Linked DNA regions of Homo sapiens: region 1 is linked to region 2. Evidence: promoter capture Hi-C in human tissues and cell types (Jung and others, 2019). All regions are on one chromosome and are shown on one strand. The core of a region is centred on a gene start or on the middle of the fragment in contact, and the rest is flanking DNA. Distances in the headings are between cores, read along the strand shown.

What was found. Contacts are between HindIII fragments. The study calls those that stand out against the background at their distance.
Region 1: a contact is called between a fragment that was not itself captured here and the fragment with the promoter of PYROXD2 in region 2, in 1 of the 25 tissues and cell types used here (bladder).

Annotation. Positions count from the first base shown.
Region 1 is chr10:98,169,250-98,176,237 of GRCh38, forward strand. All of the region lies in intron 4 of R3HCC1L (R3H domain and coiled-coil containing 1 like), which reads left to right. Among named protein-coding and RNA genes, the nearest start is that of R3HCC1L, 38 kb to the left of the region's middle. RefSeq lists enhancers at 1,353-1,402, 4,018-4,519. The HindIII fragment of the contact is 3,154 bases long and covers 1,750-4,903 here.
Region 2 is chr10:98,409,618-98,416,563 of GRCh38, forward strand. PYROXD2 (pyridine nucleotide-disulphide oxidoreductase domain 2) reads right to left here and starts at 5,565. Exons shown (of 16, transcript NM_032709.3): 1 at 5,392-5,565; 2 at 1,322-1,341. The coding sequence starts at 5,518. It overlaps HPS1 (HPS1 biogenesis of lysosomal organelles complex 3 subunit 1), which reads right to left. Exons shown (of 20, transcript NM_000195.5): 20 at 6,581-6,946. The HindIII fragment of the contact is 8,881 bases long and covers 1-6,946 here.

The sequences.
Region 1 (6,988 bases), core at 2,077-4,576, 240 kb before region 2:
ATTGTGAGACCATTCTGCTGAATATCAGGCAGTCTAGTCTAGTAGTTAAGTGCAGGGACTTTGAAATCCTAACCAACACTTAGAAGTTGTGTGATCTTTAGTTATTTAAGCTTCAGATTTCTCCTATATAAAATTGGGATAATCATAGCTATCTCTTAGTACTATAGTTGGAACCAAATGAGATAATGTATATACAATGTTTACCACAGTCCCTGTCATGTAGTAAGCACTCTGTAAATGGTAGCTGATTATTCTTCTTTCTCTTCCTCTACTACTACTAAATCACTGCTCTACCACTACTTCACTTTTGCTTGTAGGGCCTAAACTGTAATGAAACAGAAAACACAATTAGACATGGTTCATCGCGGCAGATTTTGAAAAATATGTCATTGTTCTCTTGGGCATGGCTTAATAGTTCTTTCTTAACTAAGTAGAAACTATAAAAAGACTTTTTAAAATGAAAGATAAGAATCTTTGTCTTGGTTTAAGATAGCTTTGCAAATGAGTGTACAAAACTAGTTATTCTAAAATGTATTTGCTTAATGCAAATAAATCAGCCTTTATATGAGCTTAGGGAATATGTAAAACTAACAGCTCGAAGAATTGTCATTCCTTATTACTCACCTAACACAACCTTTTTTTTTTTTTTTTTTTGGAGTGAGTGCTTTTTTTTGGGAATTGTTTGAAGTTTTTTTCTTGTGCCAAGAATAGTCACAGTAGAAGTCTTGTCCAGTGTATGAGGCACATTTTTGGGGGAATGGGATGGAAAAATCACCCTGATCATTTATCCTTAATGGTAATGAGTATTAGTGTGGATAATATATTTGGATTTGATGTGCATTATGTGATTATTTCTTCAGCACAATTAACTTCCTGATTAAACTTTGCTCAGCATATATTGTGAGCATATACTCGGTGGAAAACTGATAATACTGCTATAATGGTGGTAAAACTGCTAGTTTAGTTGATAGACAATCTGGGTTCTGGTCTTAGTTACTACCACTCTAATAGTCTTAGATAAATCCCTCAACCAGATGATTTTCAAAGGCTCTTTTCAGCTATAAGCTTTTTGTTGGTTTGTTTTGAGACTGGGTCTTGCTCTGTCACCCAGGCTGGAGTACAGTGTCACAATCATAGTTCACTGCACCCTCAAATTCATGGGCTCAAGCAGTCTCCCTCCCTCTCAGCCTTCCAAGTAGTGAGGGTTACAGGTATGTGCTACCGTTCCCAGCTAATTTTTTATCTTGTTTTAATTTTTTAGAGACAGAGTCTTGCTAAGTTGCCCAGGCTGGTCTTGAACTCCTGGCCTCAGGCAGTACTCCCACCTCGGCTTCCCAGAGTGCTGGGATTGCCTGCGTGAGCCACTGTGCCTGGCTTCAGCTATAAGATTTGAAGATAGGTATGCAGGTGGCTTAGAAACTGGGAAATGTAGTAGTGACACATTTTGGCCACCAGAGGGTGAAGTCCAGTCATTGAAGTTGTGCTCTGTATTTGACCAGAATGTGGCATTCTTGGAAATGAAGAGGACACATTGACCCTCTGTTCATTTAGGTTAAGTCATAGAGCCTCTTGCTCTCTGATTCTGCTTTCACTTATTATCTTTCTAAAACTTTCTGGGTAGGGCTGGGGCAGATACTAAAGAAAGGAGAAGAAAGGAATAGAGGTATCTAATTGTCAGCTATTCATCCAATTTTGTTCTGTAAGATAGTGAATAGCTTTCAGATGACCTATGGGCAACCTTGATGGGAAGCACAATAGTATATAGGTCACCACACTTAATTATTTGTGGCCACCTTCCTTCCCCAAAACACATAGGCATGCACACAACACTTAACCCTCATTGCCTTCACTCTCTCTGAAATTCCAAGGATGAAAACAGAATGTCTGAGAAATATAGTAGCGTGAGCACAGCCCTTATAATTGTAACCAAGGTTCCAGTCTTGCATTGCCACTTAATATCTGTGTAACCACAGACATTACAATTTTGAATTCTCAGTATCTTTATCTGAAAAACTAGGATGTTGAATTCTGACCTATACAATCCCTTTCGGTAAGTCTAATTCCAAGGCTCTGTAAAAATTCTTTAATGTTTATTTGAAGGGCAGTGCTATTCTTAATACAACACTTTAATAAAGTAGTATCTTTAAACAATAGCATGTTCTTTTTTGATAGAAACAGAGCTCTAGATGTTGTTAAGGCATAGATATTAAAGAAGTAAACTATCATGACATCAAATAGAAAGACAGTTACTGCTCCACCGTGGCATTTTTTTGGCCCCATAAACAAATACAAACTAATTCTCTGTGAATATAGGCTCAGGATAGCAGTGGTTCAATCAAGAGGGGCCAAGACTAGGAGGAGCCAGGCCAAGCTGATTTCGGGTATAGTTAATAGTGAAACATTATGAGAAGAAGTCATTTGGGGATAAGTAAGCTTAGCAAAAGAGAGCATGTAGGTTCTGGGAACCTATGTCATGAAGCTGGAGTCAGAATCCATTTCTTCCAGCCACACCAGTGGAAATAACTTTGACACAACATTCGATTATACAAGTCCAAGTTGCTGTCTGAGAGCTCAGGATGATAAGATGGAAGGAACAAGGAAAGGCACGGTAGACAAGCTGAGATGAGTGTCTAGAATGTGATAGAGCAAATGGACTCAGAAGTGTGCTTGTGAAAGCAGGCAAGGATTAGTACTTACTATTATGTTTAATATGTATGCAAGAGAGTAGAAGCCAGTCAGGCTGACTGGGTAGAAACAACATTTTAGGATTATGTTCAAAAGATAATTTTAATCTGTCCTAGTTTTAATCGCTATCCTTGGTGTTGGTAGAAAAGGTCTATTTGGTATGTCTAAGGCTCTACACATGTTTGAGGCTAGTGATTATATCACTGACAAACTCTAGGTTGTTTGATGATTCTAATAGCTTTACACTCCACGGGATATACACGTATTCACAGATCCGCTCACTACTGCTGCAGAGTTCATTTCACAGAAATGAACTGGCTAGTAAAAAATTTGGCAGGCAAACTAGCTTTTCAAGTAGCTGCTAGGAATGGAGCCCAGCTATTCCCTTTGGGCTTGAGCTGTTGGAATTCATTGGGTTAGCAGCTAGAAAGAATGAAACTGTAACATTTTTAGCGTGGTTCATGACAGCAAAGCTGAGGTGTTAGGATTTCTGTTCTAGAGGTTTACACTGCAAGTAACTTAACTTGATTGTGTGTCTTAATATTACTGGGCTTCTGACCGCTGAAATATGGCTTGGATCGATGGTGGTTTGGAGAAAGTAGAAAGAGGGCTATCCATCATCTGGAGGCTCCATAGAAGCTGGCTGATAATGCTGCTTTCACCAGGCAGCCATCTGTCCATCCATCCATCAGTAGGATGAAATGAGATTTAGCGGAACAGGCAGCCGTAACTCTGAAATACTTTCTAACCAACAATTGCAGCCCTGGCCTGAGTCTGACCACAAAGCACAGCACTGGGGTTTGGCGGGATGTGGCAGCAAGTGCAGTCTCCTTCCCGTCACTGCCAGCCTAGTATGTATTCAGTATGAGGCTGTAGCCCAAGCTTACTTCCCATACAAAATTTGACTAAACTTGGGATGACAAGTAGACAGAAATAGTCTTTCAGCTCCAGACTAAAAATTTTACAAGTTGAGCAGACCCTTTCGGTGGGGAATTTTTTTGCTTAACACTCTGGGTACTTACAGTAATTCTGTCATTGTGGTACTTAGGGATGAGGTAAAGGTAATTTACTGATTTCATTTTATATAAATTCTTGTTTTTCTTAAATCAAAATTTTTACCTAGATTGTTAGGTTGCAGAAATGGAATTTTCATTCTCTTATTTCTTTCTTCTCTCTTTGGTGGTGCTAATATGAAAGGAAAGAAAATGTAGATGGGGAAATGGGTAAAAAATTCGAAGCAAGAAAATGGATGATCCCTAAAATGGACAGTTAGGCTCTGAATAATTGGTTGTGTACCATGTCTTCCTGGTTCTTTTGCAGGAACATTGAGCCTTCTGAGAGAGCCTCTTAGTGTAGCTCTGTGCTCATGTTGCCTGTCCTGGTACCATCCCTAGCCATAGCCAGCTTCCTTGACTGCTTTCTCTCACTGATCACTTTAGACCTCAGCTCCTGCTCTTTGTTCTGAAACCTTGCTTTTCACTTCAGACTGGGGGAGGGGTAGAGGGAGCCTAATGTACCGGAGATGCTTCGGAAATGAGAGCCTTGGATGAATTCCTGGGCCTATTGATCCACCGGCAGTTTATGCATCCTGACATTCATAATCTCAGTAGGCTGCTGATGTTCCTGATTAATGGGCCCAGGGGCTGTCCATCCGTCACTTCGCATTAATTACTGAAGAGGTGTTTTTCCAGTGATTTACCTGACAGCGGGCTGTGATAAATACCCCTAAGCAGAGTGGGCAGTGATTAATCACAGGGCCACACCCCTCCCCCTACTCTTTTTTCCCCCTAACCACAGGTTAGCATTGGGACCTGACCAAATAGTGCCCCCTCCCCATAAGCTATCTATCTCCATAATTGCTTGTGGATGCATATTTATTGGGGCATGGGGCCTGGCAGATAGCATTCTAGAACTTGTGCCAAAGATGATGAAAAATAAATCTTCCCAATAGGAAGAGTATCTAACGTGTTTTTACATGGGGCAGAGAAGTGTCTGTGAGCTGCGTGTATGTTGCTTTTTAAGAAATCTGATAGGAATATTGCCCACCTGCTATGCCTGCACTCAATACTGTAATGGTTGCTTTTTGAGCTTTAAAAAGAGGAGATAGAACAACTTTTATGTTTGCTATACTTGTAGTATATTCAGGGAGAATATGTGAACAAATATGAGAAATTAGAGAACATTTCAAAGTACTAATACAATCTTGGGAGAATTGGACTAGAACTTCAGGATTCCATTTCTTACTCTGTGGCCTTAGAAAGTGAAATTTAGTTAACTATTTAAGTGTTTTAATGTTTTTCATGTGTCGGGCATTGTATTCAGCTCTGGAGATACGAAGATGAATTGGGCTGAGATCTCAGGGAACAAATTCTAGTGCCCGTTGCCTCCGTTTCTCAAAGTACAAAATAAACTTCCAGGAAGTTATTGAATTAATTTAAAATTAGTATAAGATCTAAAGTAATTTAAAATCAGTTCTTACATTAATTTTTCTGTGAATATTTATTGTATTCCCAGGGATAAAAGCAGCATATGAAAGATACTATCTGCCCTCAAGAAACTTGTAGAGTGTGAGATGGCATTCATAAATGAAACAGTTGAATAAGAATATAAAGGAGTATATAATGAGAGTGATATAACAACAATGAGATGTCTCAGTTTAAACACAACTCATTTAGGAGGGCGTTAGACATTATCAAGGAGGGCATTTCAGAAGTTGGAAGGAGCAGACAATGAGGCCATCCTGCCCAGAATGGAGACTTTGTGTCTGAGAATGATAGAAGTATTATTGAAATTGTAGATTGACACCAAATCATGGAAAATCTTAAATGCAAGGTAAGCCTAGTTTATATATTGTATGCTCTGGTGAATCTAAGGTTTTGAGTGAGAAAGTCTAGAAAAAAATGTATTTTAGAAAAAATTCTTACATATTGATGTTCGTAATGTTATTTGGAATTGCCAGATTACCTTGGCATTCTCGGAGCCCTCTTTTCCTCTGTAGTTCAAAATAAAACCGTTCAAATTAAAAATATAGTTTTCTGTATCTACCCGAGTGCAGTGCAAAGGATTGTGTAGTTCGGTTATATATGGAAGAGATGATAGAGTTGACAGTCAAAGGAGACCAAGTTTCTCATCGTTAACGCGTGCAAAGTTGAGTAAGTCAATGAAGTTTTAAGTAATGACTGCAGAATTAAATTGGGAAAGACTATGGCCTCAAGATTTAAGAAAGAAACCGTCAGTCTTACAGATAACTTCATTAAGGCTATACTGATTATTTCCTGGCTACTAGACAGGCATATTTTAAAGCCAAGAATCAGAAATTAAAGGGTCAGTGCTGTCAGCTGTATTTTAGCAGGAATTTTAAAGAGATGTCATTTTTTTCATTAAAAAACTTAAGATTATATATGGCAAACTTCACGTTTCATAGAGTACATTTTGTGAATTTTGACAAACATGCAGTTGTGTAACTCCCACACAATTAAAATGCAGAGAGAGCAGTTCCATCCATCCAAAAAATTCCCTTGTCACTTTATAGTCAGCCCCTTACCTGACCCCAAGCTTCTGGCAACCAGTGGTATGTTTTCTGTCTCTACAGTTTTGTATTTTCCAGGATGTTGTGTAACTGGAATTGTATTTCTCTAATGATAAATGATTTTGAGCATCTTTTTTGCCATCCTTATATCTTCTTTGGTGAAGTATTCTTAAATTATTTTGTTGTTTTTTTGACACTGAGTTTTGAGATTCTGGATGAAAGTTATCAGATGTGATTTGCAAATATTTTCTTGTGGTTTGTGGCTTTTTAAAATTCTCTTACATGTCTTTGAAGAGCAGAAGTTTGAATTTTGATAAAGTCGAGTTTATTGATTTAAAAATTATTTTATTTTATGGGTCATGCTTTTGATGTTGTATCTAAGAAACCTTTGCTAAACCAAAAATCACAAAGATTTTGTTCTATATTTATTTATAGAAGTGTTAAAATTGTAGGTTTACATTTAGATCTGTGATTCATTTTGTTAGTTTTTATATGTGGTGTGAGGTATGGATACAGTTTTTGTTGCAAATGAATTTCCACTTGTTTCGGCACCATTTTTTGGAAAGACTCTCTTTTTTCATAGAATTTCCTTTATACATTTCTTGAAAATCAGTTGTTCATATATGTGTGAGTCTTCTTCTGGACTCTTACTGCGTTTCATACATCTAAATGTTTACCCTTTCTCCAATGTGACACTTACCTGAGATTATTGTAGCTTTATAGTAAACTTGAAATCAGGTAGTGTGAGTTCTCCATCTTCATCCCTTTTCAAAG
Region 2 (6,946 bases), core at 4,315-6,814:
GGCAAGGCTGCATGTGCCAGGTCCTAGCAGCAAATGATCTATTACCTTCACAGCAGCTCTGTGAGGGCAGGTGCCATTGTTCCATTTTACCGTGACTCGGAGAGGCTAAGTGACACCTTAACCTTCACAAAGTGGCAGAGCTGGGAGATGAATCTTTGTTTATATTAATATAAAATCAGGCCGGGCGTGGTGGTTCACGCCTGTAATCTCAGCACTTTCAGAGGCTGAGGCAGGCGGGTCACCTGAGATCAGGAGTTCGAGATCAGCCTGGCCAACATGGCGAAACCCCGTCTCTACTAAAAATACAAAAGTTAGCCAGGCATGATGGCGGCTGCCTGCAATCCCAGCTACTCAGGAGATTGAGGCAGGAGAATTGCTTGAACCCGGGAAGTAGAGGTTGCAGCGAGCCGAGATCATGCCATTGCACTCCAGCCTGGGTGACAAGAGCAAAACTCCGTCTCAAAAAAAATTAAAATAAAATAAAATAAAATAAATGTTTTAAATTACTGATCCATTGAGTTACAAAATGCCGCACGTAAAATGTTCAAGTAAAACTTAGACATCAGGCAAAGTATTAAGGTTTAACATCAGTCCGTTAGCACAGCCACAGTTTCCCCCTATATTGATGTTCTAGAGCTGCTGCTGCTTCAAGAAGATGTTCCACATTTGTTTTGTGGCCTTGAATGCCTTCTGTGGCCTCCTGGAGGTATCTGGACTCAGGTTACAGAAGCATAAGCTAAGGATAGCTCTGGGATATCCAGCTCAGTTTGGGATCTTGAAGTCAGTTGTGTTGGGGACAGGGCACAGGCCCTTCTGCTAGACTGAGCTCCTCAATGTCTCCAGGGCACACTTTGGCCACATAGCAGCTATGTACTCCAAGGTGGTACCTGGCCTGGACCTGGCTGGGAACACAGGGCTCTAGACACAAGGGCTGCCTATGATCTGGAGTCAAGGGCCCCCACCCCGCCCCAGGTGCCCAATCCCCTGGTTCCCACCTGCTCTCATGCTGTGTTGGTTACATGCTTCCCCACCTTGTCAGCTTGTTTCTGGAAGCTCCCTGACTCCCTCACAGGCCATGGGGAAACCACCTTTCCCCATTAGGGGAAGGGGAGGAAAGGAGCCTGTGATGTCCACAGCTGGCTGCAGATGAGCATTCGACCCAGCCCCCAGTCAGCACTGGAGAGCAGAGAGCATCGACTAGGCTGCCTTTTCCTTCTCTCTCAAGGCCCTTATCCCACCTGCTTCTTCACACTCCTTCCCAGGCTGCTGAGAGCCACACGCCCAGGGCCAGTGAAGTGGGATCAAGTGGGGAGGTACTCACAGCCACCAGTCCGTTGTGTCCTGCAACAAAACGGGACAGGGAAGGAAAACATCACTGGTCAGCGGGCGGGCAGACAGACAGTCCTTGAGGAATGTGCTCCCCGCTGCCCGTCCCCATGCCATGAAGATCCTTGGTGACCCTCCCCTCCCCTTCCCGCACTCAGATGTTGGAACAGCATCTAGTTCAACTCCATGAAACACCAGATCTTCAAGGAGTCAGAAAACCCTGGTTCTTGCCTTGGCTGGAAAAGTCCTGCTCCCCTGGCTTGGTCAGGGGCTCTGCTGGAGTGAGGGGCTCATGAGAGCATCGCCAGGGCTTCCATTGCTTGGGAGGCGCAAGTGATGGTGTCTGAGGGAGCAGCACGGTTGAGTTGGCAAGCAGGAGAAGCAATGGGTGGCTGGCATGCTGCTGCGCCAACGTCCCGTCTCGCATGGCAGCATCAGCATCCAGGGGAGTGCTGGTCATGTAGGTAGTTGCTATCAAGCGCGGCTTGTTTTGTCCACGTGTGGTTCACAATCGGCACAGTGGTGCCCTAGAAGGCTTTATTCACATGGGTTTTTTTTTTTTTTGCCAATCCCCAGTGTTCCAAAAATAAAACATGAACAGTTCAACATGAAGTAAACATGCACAGCTTCAACATGTGCTGGAGTGACTAGCTGTGCTTCAGGGTGCCTTGAGCTGAGAGGCCTGAATTTGGCTTTGGCATCTCACGTTCCACACCAAGCCCCTGGGTAGCAAGTGCCTCTCCAGCTCTGATAAGCTCAGAATCACCTGGAAGGTTGTATAAATGTCGACTCCCACAGACCCCCTTCCCAGGAGTCTGTTCAGCAGGTGTTTCACAGAACCAAAAGTTTCATGAGCTAAAATTAACTCTTACCATATGAGAAGCATGTGAGAAGCTAGTTGGTTACAGTTCATCTTAAAAAGTGCTGGTTGACATACTCTTTATTTGTATGGGCTTTTGAAAATGTTCATAAGAAAGTTTAAACAATCCGCCAGTGGGACTCATGAACAGATGGAATCTGTCTCTCAAAGACATGCAGCAAACTAAAGGCAGACAGTCCTGGGCTCAGCCCAGCCTCTGCTATTTGCCAGGGCATGACCTCAGAGAGTCATCAGCTGCCCTGAGCCTTGAGTTTCTTCACATGGGGAACAGAGGGTGCCAGGGACCCTGCAGTGTGGCAAGGATGAGATAAATGGGAGCTATTTGTCTTTTAATTGGTGCTGATGATCGATCTTGGAAAACTCATAGTCTTCCAGGCAACTGGGTCCAGTTCAATCATGGCAGACCTCAAATGAGTAAGGTCAAGGATCCAAAGCACAAGACCCCCTCCCAGTGACCACCCTCAAGTCCTGGCTGAGCCCTCCTTGGCTTCTGGTGACACCTCTGTTCCCTTGAAGAGGACTTCAGCTGCGGGCTCTGCTAATCCCCAGACCTGCCTCAGGGGCCCCATAGCAGGCGCCTGGGCCCTTGAGGAGCTGCTCTGGGCGTGGGCTCTGCAGCTGCCTGCATCAGGCAGTGTTGGTTGGGTGGATGTGCTGACCTCTGGGAGACACCTCCCGCCCTCAGAATGCTCGTCACCAGGTATGGGGCCAGGAATCTCCATTTTAACAAGCCCCCTCAGTCACTCTCAGGCACATTTAGTCAAATGACTAAATGAGATTCATCTTCAAGGTGGCGGCCAGGTGCCAGTGTGCCTTCAGGGACTCAGAGGTAACCCTTGTCTCAGAAGATGCCGTTCTGTTCCTCACTGAGGCCCAAGATGCCTTTAAACCAGGCTTTATGGTATGTTTAGCAACTAAAGAAATCATGTCAAGGAAAAGCTCACACACTGAGACTCACTCGCACTTGTAGGCAAGTCACCAAGGCAGCTGGTGACCTAAAGTCAACCTTCCCCATTAGGAGACAGCAGGGTGAGCTGTGGCTGAGCACGGAAGGAGGCAGGGGGCTTCTCTGAGGCTAAGTGAGGTGCTGGAGATGGCTCCCACCAGCCCGGGGAGTTTGTGAGCCGGCTGTCAAACAGCCATTGATATAAACTAAATTATATAAGCTTACAATTAAATAAATTAAAAACAAAGGTAATAAATACTCAAAACACACTACCTCCTATTTGTTTTACTACATTTGACTGTTGCCCATGCCCTGGCAGTCACTGGCCTCTATGTACATATCTGCATGGTGGACACACTATACAATGATGTGCTACTGGGTATCTCTCCTAAATCACATTGAGCAACCTCATCTTGGTAACAGAAAAGGCTATGGTGGGAGTATTTACACCACTGTCATCAGCAAATATTACACAGAAGGGCTGAATTTATTTTTTGTGGTCAGGCTTAAGAAAGTGATGGGAAAATGCTAATAATGCAGATTAAACCTAACAGTGTTAGCTGTTATAGCATGAATAAATAGCACAAAAATTGAAGGAAATATTCTAGTATTAGAACAATATTATCTTATTTGAGTAACATCATTCCTGTCATTTAAAGAAGGAGGCCGGGCGCAGTGGCTCACACCTGTAATCCCAGCCCTTTGGGAGGCTGAGGCAGGTGGATCACAAGGCCAGGAGTTTGAGATCAGCCTCGCCAACATGGTGAAACCCCGTCTCTACTAAAAATACAAAAATTAGCCGGGCGTGGTGGTGGGCGCCTGTAGTCCCAGCTACTCGGGAGGCTGAGGCAAGAGAATCGCTTGAACCCAGGAGGCGGAGGTTGCAGTGAGCCGAGATTGCGCCGCTGCACTCCAGCCTGGGCAACAGAGCAAGACTCCATCTCAATAAATGAATAAATAAATAAAATAAAAATAAATTTTAAAAAATAAAGGAGTAAGGTTGGGACATAAATCTTTGTTGTTTCATTTGTTTCACGATCATCCTACTCTTTACAGAAAATATGGAGCACCGTTCTCTTTGGAGCTACCCTCATTTGTCATTTGCAACTATAGGTTGGCTACTGAGTTTGGCAAAAATCAAAGAAAGCCTTTGGTAAGAATCACTCGGGTAGACTGCATTTAAATTGAGAGTATTGTATCTTTATTTGTAAAATTGTGTGCAGTGTATCTTTTATTTCAATATTTAAAATAAGCATGTGTATATGTGTATATATATGTACGTAACACATATACATATATATACACATATATGTGTGTATATATACATATATATACATGTACACACACACATACATCACACATTTTTCCCTGGAGAGGTGAGTGTTGAGTATCTACCAGCTCGCAACTGCTCTAGTACATATGAAAATGAAGGCATGCCCTCAAAGCTGCATGTTGAGTGCCGTCTGCTTTCGGTCCCGTCATTATCTCTGTATAGACCCAGTTGGCAATCATGCATTTGGGGCCCTCTGCAAGTGTGAAAGGAAGGCACTAAGGAAAGACCACCTGGTCCTGGGCCTGCCTCTTCCCCTAGCACCCAGTAGACTGTGATACTCTGAGCCCAGGGGTTGGCAAAGTGTGGCAGATCACTGCAGATCCCCAAATGTCCCAGAGCTGCAAGGCAATGGGGTCCATCTCCCTCTGCAGACACGCAGTAGGAACTCTGGGACTCAGTTCTGTTTTATCCTAACTGGCCTTTATGAAATGACTGCAGTTTCTTGTGACGAGGGGTGGCCTCAGTGGTAAGGTAGTGGTGACCAGAACTCAGGGCACTGAGGGGGCGGGGTGCTGGATTTCACTTGTCTGTTGGCCCAGGGCTCTTTCCAACCCTTACAAACCATAGGCTGAGAATGTGGTGGAAACTAGGTCACTTTGCAAGAGATATAGGGAAACCCCTGAGCTCACCTAGTCTTCCTGTCATTCTCCATGGGAAGATCCAAGCCCAGAGAAGGCAAGCATTTGCCCCAGGCCACACAGCAGAGCCAGCACCGGAATCCCAGGTGCCTGCCTGCCAGATGGAAGGGCTTTCCATTGCAGCCCCTGCTAGCGTATAAACTTCTGGCTGGGTTATGCCAGAGGAGAGAGCAGTGGGGCTTGGCTCCCCCTCCCCCTCCCCACCAAGCTCTGAGCAGGGCTGTCTTCCCGCCCCTCAGCTCTGGCCCGGCCTGCTTTACCACTTTACCTGCTCCTATCACCACCGCATCATACTCAGGCTTCAGACCTCCCCTGGCTTCCGTGTTATCTCGTCTCCACGCCGGGAAGGGAGAGGCGGCCACAGCCTTGCAGAGACCTCGGCCACTTGCAGCCATTTCTGCCCCAGGCTGGGCCTTGCTAGGCAGGGAGTTTGCTAGCGATTGGCTTTTGTGCTGCCCTAGGCACGGGGTGGAGCAGGGAGGAAGCAGGAAGAGGAGGAGCTGCAGTCCCCCTCCAGGCCCCCTCCACCATGCATTCTTGGCCACAGGCCAGCCTCCTGCTGCCCTGGGGCTGTGCTGGGCCGTCGGGAGTGTTGCCTATTAACCAGGCGGTGTCACCTCCAGGATGCAGGGGATAATGGCAAAACTGACAATCCACTGGGGTTCCTATGTCAGGCTGGCATTGTGCTGAACCCTGTAGGCAAAACTCCCCATTTTACAGATGAGGGCGCTGAGGCTGCGGGGTTAGGGAATGAGTGGTGGAGGCAGAGTGGAGCTCGAAAGGGCCCTCTCCTCCCCTGTGCATCTACCTTCTCAGTCAGAACTGAAACGCCTGGGATGGCAAGTGCTCGTGTCAGACTCTGCTCCAACTCCATGCTGAGTCTGCCAGTGCAGAGTGGTGATGCCTCTACGCCCACAGGAGGCGCCCAGGGCGGCCATCTAGCGTCACCACGACCAGGGCCTTCAGACACCGCAGAGGCAGCTGTGTCTGTCGCTGAGGAGCACTGGAGTCCTCTCCTAAATGCTCAAACACAAACCCACAACGAGGGCTTAGGGGCAAGTTCGCTGTCTGTAATTCTCTGGTGTTTTAGTTTTGAAGGCCTGGCCAGTTCTCCTCTTTTGGCACCTTGCCCATTTTCCAAGAATCCCCAAGGATTCGAGGTCACATCTGTAAATACCTCCAGCTAAAGTTCTTTCTGACCCTCCCTTAGGCCTGCCTTGAATTAGGAGCCCCTTTGTTCTCTGCCCATTACTTAGCAGAGTGTTCCCCTAGGAGGAAAAAACCCCTTGGAGCGGAGAGTTCCTGCACTGCTCTGATATCGCAGTGTGACGGAAACCTGCTATTGGTAACGAATCTCAGAACTGGGAGAGTATGTGGAGATGATCCTAAGAGGGGGTTCCGAGGACCCCTCCACACACCATGGACAGTTACCCCGCATGTGAGCATCTCTGCTAAGATCTGATTCAGGATGTTCACTCCTGTGTTATTTATTATATAGAAAGATCAAGGGGACTGGTTAAACTAGACATATCACATCCAGCCGCTGCTAAAAACTAAAGGGAAATAGTAGGTGACAAAAGCAGGGGTCCTGAACAGTGGTGGGCTCAGGGGATTGGAGTTTTTTCCTTTATGTTTTTCTGTATTTTCCACAATCCACGCTTTTCATTGCCATTCCATCAGATGATGTTAAGGAGGAACACAGATCCAGTCACCTGAGGGGATACTTCCTCACTGCCACCTTCTCAGGGTTTAGACCAACATGTGGGTTCTAGTTCCCCCAGCCCCAAAGCTGTTCCCTGCAAGGAAGAGATCAGTCTTTGAGC